Regions from separate parts of the Homo sapiens genome. Here regions 2, 3 and 4 are each linked to region 1. The links are contacts of gene promoters, found by promoter capture Hi-C in human tissues and cell types (Jung and others, 2019). All regions are on one chromosome and are shown on one strand. The core of a region is centred on a gene start or on the middle of the fragment in contact, and the rest is flanking DNA. Distances in the headings are between cores, read along the strand shown. Region 1 holds the start of MYBL1 (MYB proto-oncogene like 1). Region 2 overlaps CSPP1 (centrosome and spindle pole associated protein 1). Region 3 holds the start of PPP1R42 (protein phosphatase 1 regulatory subunit 42). Region 4 overlaps COPS5 (COP9 signalosome subunit 5).

Region 1 (2,810 bases), core at 52-2,551:
ATCTTTTCAGGTTTATTTGATAATGCTGAAAATCGGAAGACATCCTATATTTTTGTTATCTAAGCAATTACTCCACATAATTTATGAGTAGCTGCTGTAATGGCATGTAAACGAAAATTAGATGCATAAATTCATCCTAGCACATTTTCCAGGCAAAGGTGGAAAAAAGTGCCTTACCTCTGTGGAACACTTAGGTACGGTCAGAGCCAAACACAGACACTCAAAATATTAAGTGAATCAAACACATTGTTTTATTTCAAGATCAAGCTACTAGTTGTTACTACTAGTTGTTACTATGTGACATGGTCCCAAGAGAGGATATTAAAATATACATATATACATAAAGCTGAGCATATGGGTATAGGAATTACAGAAAACATCAAAAAAGTCCTCTCAGCTATTCCCCAGAGGATTTTCCACAACGTTTCAAGATAGCCAAGTTGGCAGAGGGGTGGCCGCCCAGGTTCACCGCGGAGTTCCTATTTTGACTGTACCGTCATTCAGAAAAGAGTCGCCCGAACACCATTTTCAAGTCCTCCCGGCAGGACACAGTCAGTTTTCTCTGCGTAGCGGACTCCCTAAAAGCGCTCGACTTACCTGGCAAGAAACCTGCCTCGAAGAAGTGGCAGCATGAGGTCAGAAATCTGGACGCGCATTACGGGGAGAGTCACCGAGAAACCTGGGCATCTCTTACGTCCCGCGCCTCAAACACCCTGGTCCCCAACTCTCCACACGTCGCAGCTGCCCTCCGGTCATCGAGGCCAAGCGGCCGCGGGGACGCGGGAAGAAAAACCTCTGCCCTCGCCAGGGAGGGCCTTATGGCGGGAGGGGGCAGCGGGATAGGAAAGAGAATCTGAGCCGAGACGGCGCCGACAGGCCTGGGCGAAAGGGGTGCCACCCACCTGCGCGACCTCTTCGCCATCCTTCAAGTACCGCATAGGAGCAGGCTGGGCGGGGACGCGGGTCAGCCTCCTCCAGCCTCCGGCGAATGCTCCTTCTCCCCGATCCTCTAGCCGCTTCCCTCGCTCCCTCTGGAGGCGGCCGAGTGCGGAACGCACGTCCTCGACAGGGCAGGACGGAGGGACAGCGGGGGCGGACCGCGACCCGACCCCGACCCCGGCCCGCAGCGCCGCTCTTAGCCCCGGCCCGGCCCGGCCAGGGATACCCCCAACATGTCAGGAGGCGCGATCCCGCCCTCCGCCGGCTTCTCCCGCCGCTTGTCAGCCTCCCTGCCCTGGCCCCAGCCCGGCTCCGCCACAGGCGCCCGACCCCTGCCCTCTCCCCCGCAGCTAGCAGTTCTGCAGGGCTCGCAGTCTCCTGCAGGGTTTTGTCCGCACCGCCGAATCTCGCGCCCAGCCTCCCTCAAGAGCCGCCGTTTGAATCTGCGCACGCGGCCCTGAACCTCATTGGCTGTGGGGGCCGCACGCGAAGAAGCGAGGGCGGGGAGGGGAGAGCGCGCGCGGCTGAGGGCGGGGCTGGGGAGCTGGAAGCTGGGACTGGAACTCGCGGGAGTCGGGGAAGGAGCCGGGAGCCAGGGGGTGGGGCCGCGGGTGGGGCCGTAGGTGGCGCATGCGAGCCGAGCTGTCATAGGACCCGGAACGCGCCGAGAGGCGCACCGCGCGGGGCCTGCTGGGAGAGCGAGTTCCTGCGCTCGCCGAGGAGTGGGTCCGGAAGCGGCGCCGGAGCGGGTCCGGAAGCGGGCGGTGGAGAAGTCCAGTTGCCCCAAAATTCTTAGGGTGAGCGAACCGAGTTTCTGGCGGGGTGGGTGGTCCCGCGGCCCACCAAGGGAACGTCTCCGCAGCCTCGCCTCGGCGACAGCTCCTGGCTCCTTAGGTGTCTTCCGCCTCACTAGTTAGGATGCGCGGTCTTCAGACTTGAGACAAATCTAACCATAAATTTGCGCGGCCGTTATTTTTTAAGCAAAAATGTGAGCTATTTTTACCCAGACATCATAGTTACGAGAGTGACGAAGACTCTGGCAGGAAACCAAATATCACCTGTTTTCCTCAAAAAGCAGCAGAAGAGTGACAAGTGAAAAAAGTTCCTAGCGGGAGACGTGCTTGGAACCGGAGATAATCTGTGTCTACCGCTGGTCTTCAAGGTGCTTAATTTCGTGCCCGCTCTACAGGAAATAACGTGCGCGGCGGAGGAGCCCTGTCCTGGAGAATAACGCGTGAAGAAGACAGTGGACTGGGCATTTCGTCCAGATGAATGAGCATGGTAGTTAAGTGTAGAAGGTGACCTTCTTCCCTCTGGAGAGACCAGGGAGGGGGGAACCACCGGAGGAGTTTCTAGCGGTTGCAGCTACTTGAGGTTCCAGTCTAATAACTACGAACTGTTCATTTCAAGTAGCATTAAAGTAGATTTGCTACAGTAACAATTACACTTGGCTAAGGAAAATTTGCAAGGCAACATGGTCTATTGCATAGAGCACTGAGCCACATGTTAACACTGTAACAAACACTTGCTATTTTGAAATTTTACGCTTCATCTTTTGCAAATCAGATGCAGGTGCAGAGTGAATTAAGAGGAGCTGAATTAAGAGAGAAGCTTGCATGCACTGCTGTCAAAACCTAAACACACTGGCTTTTTTTTTTTTAACAGTTCCTTTTTTCAAGGTATAGATTCTGGGAAGGTAAGGGAAGATAAAACAGCTTTTCTTTTTCTCTCCTGTTTTTTTTTTTGTTGTTTTTTTTTTGAGACTAGGTCTCACTCTATTCCCCATGCTGGAGTGCAGTGGCACAATCATAGCTTACAGTAGCCTCGAACAGCGATCCTCTTGCCTCAGCCTCCAAAGTAGCTGGGACTAC
Region 2 (2,887 bases), core at 217-2,716, 460 kb after region 1:
AGGAATGCCAAGGACTTTATATGTATCATTTTATTTAATCATAATATCCCTGTTAAGCAGGTGAATTTTTTTTGTTTTATGGATTAAGAAAGTGAAGCTCACAGGAGTTAAGTAATTTGTCCAGGTCCACACAGTGGTGGATTCAGGAGTGGAACCTTTATGCAGCTCCAGAGTCTATCTCTTAACCACTCTCCAGTAGTTAGGACCAGCTTACGGCTTTGGAGTTACATGATTTGGAGTACATAGCTTTAAAGACAGTTTTGTTATAATTTCTAACATTAATTTGTACATAAATAATTTTAAGTCTTAGTTCAAGTATCACCTGCTCAGTGAGGCCTTATAGTCCCCCAGCATTTCTGGGCCTCCTTACTTTAATCTGCTTTTTTTTTTTTCCATAACCACTTCCTGCCACTATCTACATATCACATAATCTAATCATGTGTTGAGTTCATTATGTGTCCCCCCAATAGTTTATAAGCTTCATGATGGCAGAAATTCTTCTATTTTTTAAAACTCTTATACTTTCAATGCTTGACAAAATGTTTGGCACTTAATGGGAACTCAGTAAATATTTGTTGGTAAGTGAATGAGTTAAATATTAGAATATCTATTATAAAATTAAAATACCTTTGGCTAATTCCTCAAACCTTACACTTAATTTCTTCTATGATGTACTGTGTAATTTCATCAAGCTGTTTAATTAAAATTTGAGATGAGTTGTATATTTCATGGTTTTTTTTTTCCTCTTGCTTTTGTAAACATTATGTCTCTTTCAGGGAAAGTTGTCAGCGAAGCTTTCTGAAAACAGTAAGATACTGATCTCTATGGCTAAGGAAAACATACCACCAAATAGTCAACAGACCAGGGGTTCCTTAGGTATGTCATTAGATGTGCTAAACTTATTTTAAGATATCCTTAGTGGGCTCTTCTGAAAGAGGTTTGTCTTGTCAGAAAAAAAGATTTATTTGGAATCCTAGTAGTTTTTCTTTCTGGAATCTTACGTAAGTCAATATGGTCTACATATGAAATAGAACTCATACTGAAAACTTTGTACTTGTTTTATGTGATACTGCATTGGTTATGATTTATGGAACTTATAGAAGAAGGTGTGTATAACATAACTTAAAAATTGAAAACTTTGAAAGGAATTTGTGTGTGTGAGAGAGAGAGAGAAGAGAAACTTTTATTTGTTGATTGAAAATGGTGAACTTGCTTATTTAAAAATTAAAGAAATATGCTTAAAGGGTACAAAATGCTGTTTGGTGAAAGACTATTTTAATTATTGATGATCATGTTGGAATTGTAAAGAAGTTAATACTGTAGCCATACTAATGCTTTGATTATGGTATGGTATGAAAATATTTGGAAACTTTTTACCACATTTTGGCTTGTTGGTAGGTATACATTTTAAAAAAAGAAAATGTATGAATATGTAAAAATTTTTGTTTATTTATTAAAGACAGGGTCTCTCTCTCTCTCTCTCTGTCACTCAGGCTGGAGTGCAGTGGCATGATCATAGTTCAGTGTTATCTTGAACTCCTGGGTTCAAGCAATCCTCCTGCCTTGGCCTCCCAAAGTACTACAATTACAGGCCTGAGCCACCATGCCCAGTCTGTATGAATATATATAATTTTTTTTTTTTTTCTTCAAGGCTGAGTCTGACCCTGTCGCCCAGGCTGGAGTGCAGTGGCACGATCTCGGCTCACTGCCGCCTCCACCTCCCAGGTTCAGGCGATTCTCCTGTCTCAGTCTCTCAAGTAGCTGGGATTACAGGCGCATGCCACCACACTCAGCTAATTGTTTATATTTTTGGTAGAGACAGGGTTTCGCAGTGTTGGCCAGGCTGGTCTCGAACTCCTGACCTCAGGTGATCTGCCTGCCCGCCTCGGCCTCCCAAAGCTGGGGTTACAGGCGTGAGCCACTGTGCCCGACCTGTATGAATATTTTCAATGTGCATTTTGTGATTTATTGATGATGACAAACTTTTTCACAAAAAGAAAATCAACTATGATAAGTTCATTTGATTAAAGCATTGTTCTCAAATGGACAGCTTTTCATGGATGTAGGTATACTCCTAAATTGTTTTTGTGTGCCAGTGGATACAAGGGGATGCCGGCCAAGAAACTGGATAGTCAGTAAGCTTTGTCTCTGCATTAGACAAATAGCTCAAAGTGAGTGCCCTACTTTTAATATCAGATAGATAACTCTTTCCATTTTGAATCTCTTATAAATTATTAATATACAGCATTAGTGAACTAAAGTATTATATATTGGTAAAATTTTTTAATCTCTAAGGCTCTCAATTTTTTTTCTGTGAAATAAGTTTGATTATCTTCCAGCCCTACGTTTTTATGAATCTAAATTTTAATTATTCCAAGAGATAATTTTTAAAAAGTTTAATAGTAGGTTATCTCAAGCACTAAGGTCGCTAAGGTTAGACAGAATCCCTTTTAAATTCTAGGGTTACAGCTTGCTTTGGATTGGGCTGTGATGCCTTTATGACCTGTCAGGAGCTACACTTTGTTTCCTTATCTTATGACATCTATCTCAAAAAGTCGTTATGGGCGAAAGTTAAATACGTGAAAAGATGGCTGGCACGTAATTGGTACACAATAAATATTAATTTCTTTTTCTCCTTAACATCTTTTTTTTTTGAGACAGGATCTTACTTTGTCGCCCAGGCTGGAGTGCAGTGGCATAATCTTGGCTCACTGCAACCTCCACTGTCCAGGCTTAAGTGATTCATCCTCCCTCCTCAGCCTCCAAGTAGCTGAGACCACAGGTGAGCACCACCATGCTGGCTAACTTTTTTTTATATACATATATTTTCTGTAGAGGTGGTGTTTCGCTATGTTGCCCAGGCTGGTCTGGTCTCGAACTCGCTAGC
Region 3 (2,781 bases), core at 53-2,552, 410 kb after region 1:
ATTAGCTGGGCGTGGTGGCACATGCCTATAATCCCAGCTACTCAGGAGGCTGAGGCAGAGGAATCGCTTGAACCTGGGAGGCAGAGGTGGCAGTGAGCCCAGATCGCACCACTACGCTCCAGCCTGGGCGATAGAGTGAGACTCCGTCTCAAAAAAAAAAAAAAAGAAAAAATAAGAGCATAGTAAATTGTGAAAATGTGGCCGGGCGCGGTGGCTCATGATTGTAATCCCAGCACTTTGGGAGGCCGAGGTGGGTGGATCACCTGAGGTCAGGAGTTTGCGACCAGCCTGACCAATATGATGAAACCCTGTCTCTACTAAAAATACAAAAAAATTAGCCGGGCATGGTGGCATATGCCTGTAATCCCAGCTACTCGGGAGGCTGAGGCAGGAGAATCGCTTGTACCCAGGAGGCAGAGGTTGTGGTGAGCCAAGATTGCACCATTGCACTCCAGACTGGGCAACAAGAGTGAAACTCCATCTCAAAAAAAAAAAGAAAAAAGAAAATGTGACAAGGTAAAGGAGCTTGGGCTAGGGCTAGGGTAGTTGATTGGTGAAGGGTTCCTGTAAAAACATTTGTTTGTACAGCTTTTCCTTGGCTTCAGCTTCTAGTCCTTGATGGTAAGAATGATACTTTCTAGTATAGGGAGGAAATCTTTCACATAAAAATTTATTCTCCTGCTTTTAAGAAAAAGAACAGGCAGGGTGTGTTGGCTCACACCTGTAGTCCCAGCACTTTGGGAGGCTGAGGTGGGAGGATTGCTTGAGCCCAGGAGTTCGAGACCAGCCTGAGCAACATGGCGAGACCCCTGTCTCTACAAAAATAAATGAGCCGGGCATGGTGGTACACGCCTGTGGTCCCAGCTATTTGGGAGGTTGAGGCAGGAGGATTGCTTGAGCCTGGGAAGTCAAGGCTGTGGTGAGCTGTGATTGCGCCACTGCACTTCAGCCTGGGAAACAGAGCATGAACCTGTCTCAAAACAAAAAACAAAAAACAGAATAAAAGTCAGAGCAATCGTCTTTTACCTGTCATTTTTCAAGTGCTTTTTTTTTTTTTTTTTCCTGAGATGGAGTCTTGGTCTGTTGCTCAGGTTGGAGTTCAGTGGTGCGATTTCGGCACACTGCAACCTCTGCCTTCTGGGTTCAAGCGATTCTTCTGCCTCAGTCTCCCGAGCAGCTGGGATTACAGGCATGCACCACCACGCCTGGCTAATTTTTGTATTTTTAGTAGAGATGGGGTTTTGCTATGTTGGCCAGGCTGGTCTGGAACTCCTGATCTCAAGTGATCCGCCCGCCTCAGCCTCCCAAAGTGCTAGGATTACAAGTGTGAGCCACCATGCCCAGCAATTTTTCAAGTGCTTTTATCTAAATATAGTCAATATGCCAGAGCAGCATATTTTGAAATGACATATTCTTAATACTTTCACTTTAGAAATGGATTCCGTCTATAGATTTCAGTGTATAAACTGGTGTTCACATAGATAAAAATTAATGACCTTAGATAATTTTGGAAAAGGACAGAGGCAAACTTTGTATGTAAGTGAAGTATTTATTAAACCAAGGGAAGGTCAATGGACCTCATCAGCAAGCTATAGGAAAACTTTCTAGGGGCTTGAATATGGAAAAGGAGAGAACTGAATCAACCCACAACACAAAATAATAGACTGTTAACTCAAAAGAATTTGCATTGTAGCAGTCCATAAGAAAGAATTTAGTTTCATCAAAACACCACCATTCATCTTGTTAAAAACAATATTAATTTAAACTGTATTGGTAGTTTTTATTGTTTTAGAAAATTAAAAGCTTCAGGAGCTTAAACTGAACCTAAAGTGGATTTGGATATATTTTAGAACATTATAATAAAAATAATGTCCGCACTTGTGAAGTGTCTTTGGTTTTCTTTTAAAAGAGATTGTGTTCTAAAGTTTGAGAAACTGCTTTTGCCTACTTTCCACCTTCTAGATATCTCGTGTTACTTTGGGACTCCTCTTACTAGATCTCTCTCTCCCAGGCCACCGGTGGGAACAGCTTAGAGCTTCTTTACAGGCTCTAGGGATCCATTTTATTGTTAGCTTTTTGTTGGTGTTTTTTGTTTTTTTGTTTGTTCGTTTTGTTGTTGTTTTCCAGCTTTTCGGTTTGGGGGGTACATGTGCAGGTTTCTTACATGGGTGGAATCCATTTTAATGGACCCCTTGGCTTTCATCTACTGGAATTCCCACAGACTAGAGGCAGTGGACAACGTTTTCTGAATTCTGTTAGTATCTATACTTCCACTTAGGCCACAGGCTCAGTGGCTTCCAGATGCTCTAAATCACTGGCTCCAGCCCTCAGGCTTTTCAAAACCCTTCCCTTTCAAACTCAGCTCCACGCCCACCGGGCTGCTTCCTCAGCCCCGCGACCACCCCTCCACCTGTGTCTCCCTCCTCTAGAGCTGTTTCACAATCTTGCCAGCTAACCATTTGTTAAAAACACAGACTTCCAGACTATTTTTTCTGGAAATTCTGTATGTCTAAAGATAGGGCCCAAGGATCTGCATTTTAACAAATGTCCCGGAAAGTCTTACTGGCAGGCAAGTTTGAGAAACATGGTTCTAGGGTTTCCTCGGTCCCCACGCTTATTCCCCGCGGGCAGCTCACCGCTCGCGGGACAGTCCGGTAGCTAACTCCAGTTTGGTCGGTTTCATCGGCGCCGGGTCCCTACGCAGACCAGCGGCGGTTGCTGGGCGACCAGACGCGCTGTCCAAGCGCCGCTCACGAGAAATCTCGCGACATCGCAGGCTGC
Region 4 (3,068 bases), core at 23-2,522, 430 kb after region 1:
GGCCCTACTTACCAATCTTAAGTCTAACTGAATCTCATTTCCTTGAAGGTTCTAGGTTCTTGCTTTCTACCTCTGAGCTTCTACACACTGCTGTACTCCCTGCCTGTAATAGTAACCACCTCCCTGTTACTCTCTTCTGGCTAATCCTTTCATGTTTCAACTTAATGGTCAGGCCACATCCTTCAGGAAGCCAACTTTGCTAACCCCTCTTGAGGACATGCATTCCTCCCCATGAGTCCCCAACACACTTTATTTCTCCCCTCACAGCAGTATCTTTAAGTTCTTGTTAATTAAGCTTTAGCCTCCAGAAGTTCTGTGAGGACAGTGGCCATGTCTAGCTTGTTCAGCATATTTCCAGAGAGTAACAGTCACCAGCTCAGGAAAGGTATGTGATGAATATTTGAAGGACTAGATACCCTGTGCTAGGCTGTCTCTAATAAGTATTTGATTTTCAGGAAAATAATTTATGGTACTACTCAGCTAATGTTTTGTAGGAACATTAAAAGTGTTCCTAATACATTATTAAAATAATGAACTGTTAAATTATATTTTACTTACAGACAGTCAAAAGAAGGGACAAATTGAAAAGTGGTTCTGACAATCAGTATGGCAAGTGAAATGCTGAAATTGACTAATTTAGATAGTCTAAACTTAAAAATAGAAAGTTCTAATAAATATATTTTCTCTCATATTCAAGAACCGTAATGGATACTAGAAAAATATTGCGAATCTTCCCACAAAAAAATCAAAGGACAATTTCATTTTAAAGAGCTTTATTACAGGATATTAATATTTAGGACACTTCAGAGCACCTTATACTTCTAATCAGATTTTGGGTAACTGGTTTTAAAGTGTTACTTGAATATTTTTCTCATACTGTCTTTCAGGTAAAGTACTTCTCAGAGACTGTTTAAGAGATGTTAATTTGATTAAACAGTTTATCCTTAATAACCTGAGACATCAATCCATGGATAGCTTCTATGGTAGTTTTACAGCTGGAAAAAAAAACACACATCACATGATGTCATAAATTGAAAACTATTTCAAACACACAAGATCAGCCCCAATCCATCCATGTAACTCCAATGAGTTTAGTTTTATTCATACTTCTCAAACCACCCCAATCTGAAGTTTTCCCTTGTGATTTTATTAGTCTTCCCCATGTCTTTTTGACCATTTCATTACTTACTAGAACTTTCACAAGAGAATGACAACGTAAAATTTGATACAATTGTTCTGTTTTAGAAGGTGAGTAAAATTATACAAACCTGTAATTAGAGATTGATTCTAATATTATATTATATTAAAATCTGTTATTCCTTGTTTATTACTTAGGATAATTTGACAAATAATTTTAAAGAATACTATGCTTTTTTCTGAAATAATCACAAGCATCCTCCAACAATCAGAAGTCAAACTTAGGTTAGCGGGTGAAGGCCTTAGATTTTAGAAATGATAAAAAGTATAAGGCAAAAGAAATGACAAAACCCCACCAATACTCAGAAGAGATGCAATTCTTGTAAAGCTACCCCAAAAAGGAAAATTCTCTACTTTTGATTACTACTTCTGTTCTATTTCTTATATAATTGAAGACATTGCCATAGTAAAATTTTTGCTTCATAATTAATAAATGTAGATAAACTGATAAATGACATACATAAAGACAGATGAACAAAACACACACTCAAAGCAAGTATCTAAAATGACTCCTGATGCCAACGAAAAATACTTTTTTTTGGAGACAGAGTCTCACTCTGTCACCCAGGCTGGAGTGCAGTGGCACAATCATGGGTCACTGCAACCTCTGCCTCCTAGGCTCCAGTGATTCTTGTGCCTCAGCCTCCTAAGTAGCTGGAACCACAGATCTGCGCCACCATGCCCAGCTAATTTTTTTTTTAAATTTTTGCAGAGATGGGGTTTTGCCATGTTGCCCAGGCTGGTTTCAAACTCTTGAGCTCAAGCAATATGCCTGCCTTGGCCTCCCAAAGGGCTGGGATTATAAGCATGCGTCACCATGCCCAGCCGAAAAACGCAACTTTTATGCAGGCCACTAGCTCTACCTTCTAAAAACCCACTGAGAAGATGGCAGTGAAATAAGGCTAACCCAAAATGACCTCCAATCCCAGGATACACTTTAGCTACTCTTTTCTCTTCTTTTCCCTATAAACCAAACCAGTTCTTAAAATAGATACCAACATATAAATGTTTATAGAAGTCAATATGTTTCTTCCTTCCTTTCTGCCTCTAATTATTGCATTACAATTCAAATTTCTTTTCTTTCTTTTTTTTTTTTGGAGACAGAGTTTCGCTCTTGTTGGCCAGGCTGGAGTGCAATGGCGCCATCTTGGCTCACTGCAATCTCCACCTCCTGGGTGGAGGTGATGCTTCTGCCTCAGCCTCCTGAATAGCTGGGATTACAGGTGCCCGCCACCACGCCCGGTTAATTTTTGTATTTTTAGTAAAGATGGGGTTTCACCATGTTGGCCAGGCTGGTCTTGAACTCCTGATCTCAGGTGATCTGCCTGCCTTGGCCTCCCAAAGTGCTGGGATTACAGGTGTGAACCACTGTGCCCGGCCTAAAATTCAAATTTCTGTGAAAGTAAATGTTATTAATCTTTGCAACTTTGTATAGCCTATATATCTGAAGGTCCACATAATTATTTCGTAAGTTATTAAAGAACACATCCCAAATTTGTTCCTAATAAAATCTTTGGTAGTAAAATTTGGGATACTAAATTACTGTTTTAGAAGCACAATTTAAGAGAGAGACAATCACTTCTGTAATATCTTAGGATTTAAAGCTTTATTGAATATTAACATCTTGTAAATTTAAGAAATCCTAATTTTGGCCGGGTGCGGTGGTTCATGCCTGTAATCCCAGCACTTTGGGAGGCCCAGGTGGGCAGATCACCTGAGGTCAGGAGTTCAAGACCAGCCTGGTCAACATGGTGAAACCCCATCTCTACAAAAAATACAAAAAAATTAGTCAGGCATGATGGCAGGTGCCTATATTCCCAGTTACTTGGGAGGCTGAGGCGGGAGAATCGCTTGAACCCGGTAGGCGGAGG

The links. The method cuts DNA at HindIII sites, captures the fragments that hold promoters and counts their contacts. A contact is called where the count stands out against the background at its distance.
Region 2: a fragment that was not itself captured here is called in contact with the fragment with the promoter of MYBL1 in region 1 in 1 of the 25 tissues and cell types used here (dorsolateral prefrontal cortex).
Region 3: a contact is called between a fragment that was not itself captured here and the fragment with the promoter of MYBL1 in region 1, in 1 of the 25 tissues and cell types used here (hippocampus).
Region 4: a fragment that was not itself captured here is called in contact with the fragment with the promoter of MYBL1 in region 1 in 1 of the 25 tissues and cell types used here (H1 embryonic stem cells).

The regions. Positions count from the first base shown.
Region 1 is chr8:66,611,917-66,614,726 of GRCh38, forward strand. MYBL1 (MYB proto-oncogene like 1) reads right to left here and starts at 1,302. Exons shown (of 16, transcript NM_001080416.4): 1 at 903-1,302. The coding sequence starts at 922. It overlaps LOC105375884 (a long non-coding RNA gene), which reads left to right and starts at 1,633. Exons shown (of 2, transcript XR_929015.3): 1 at 1,633-1,736; 2 at 2,129-2,810. RefSeq lists a silencer at 1,069-1,588 and enhancers at 1,819-1,958, 2,009-2,088, 2,099-2,148. The HindIII fragment of the contact is 9,266 bases long and covers 1-2,810 here.
Region 2 is chr8:67,075,706-67,078,592 of GRCh38, forward strand. It overlaps CSPP1 (centrosome and spindle pole associated protein 1), which reads left to right. Exons shown (of 31, transcript NM_001382391.1): 3 at 777-876. Among named protein-coding and RNA genes, the nearest start is that of CSPP1, 13 kb to the left of the region's middle. The HindIII fragment of the contact is 3,037 bases long and covers 1-2,887 here.
Region 3 is chr8:67,025,855-67,028,635 of GRCh38, forward strand. PPP1R42 (protein phosphatase 1 regulatory subunit 42) reads right to left here and starts at 2,700. Exons shown (of 8, transcript NM_001364910.1): 1 at 2,637-2,700. It overlaps LOC105375885 (a long non-coding RNA gene), which reads left to right and starts at 2,724. Exons shown (of 4, transcript XR_929017.2): 1 at 2,724-2,781. The HindIII fragment of the contact is 6,535 bases long and covers 1-2,781 here.
Region 4 is chr8:67,042,323-67,045,390 of GRCh38, forward strand. It overlaps COPS5 (COP9 signalosome subunit 5), which reads right to left. Exons shown (of 8, transcript NM_006837.3): 8 at 757-995. The coding sequence ends at 911. Among named protein-coding and RNA genes, the nearest start is that of PPP1R42, 15 kb to the left of the region's middle. The HindIII fragment of the contact is 4,464 bases long and covers 1-3,068 here.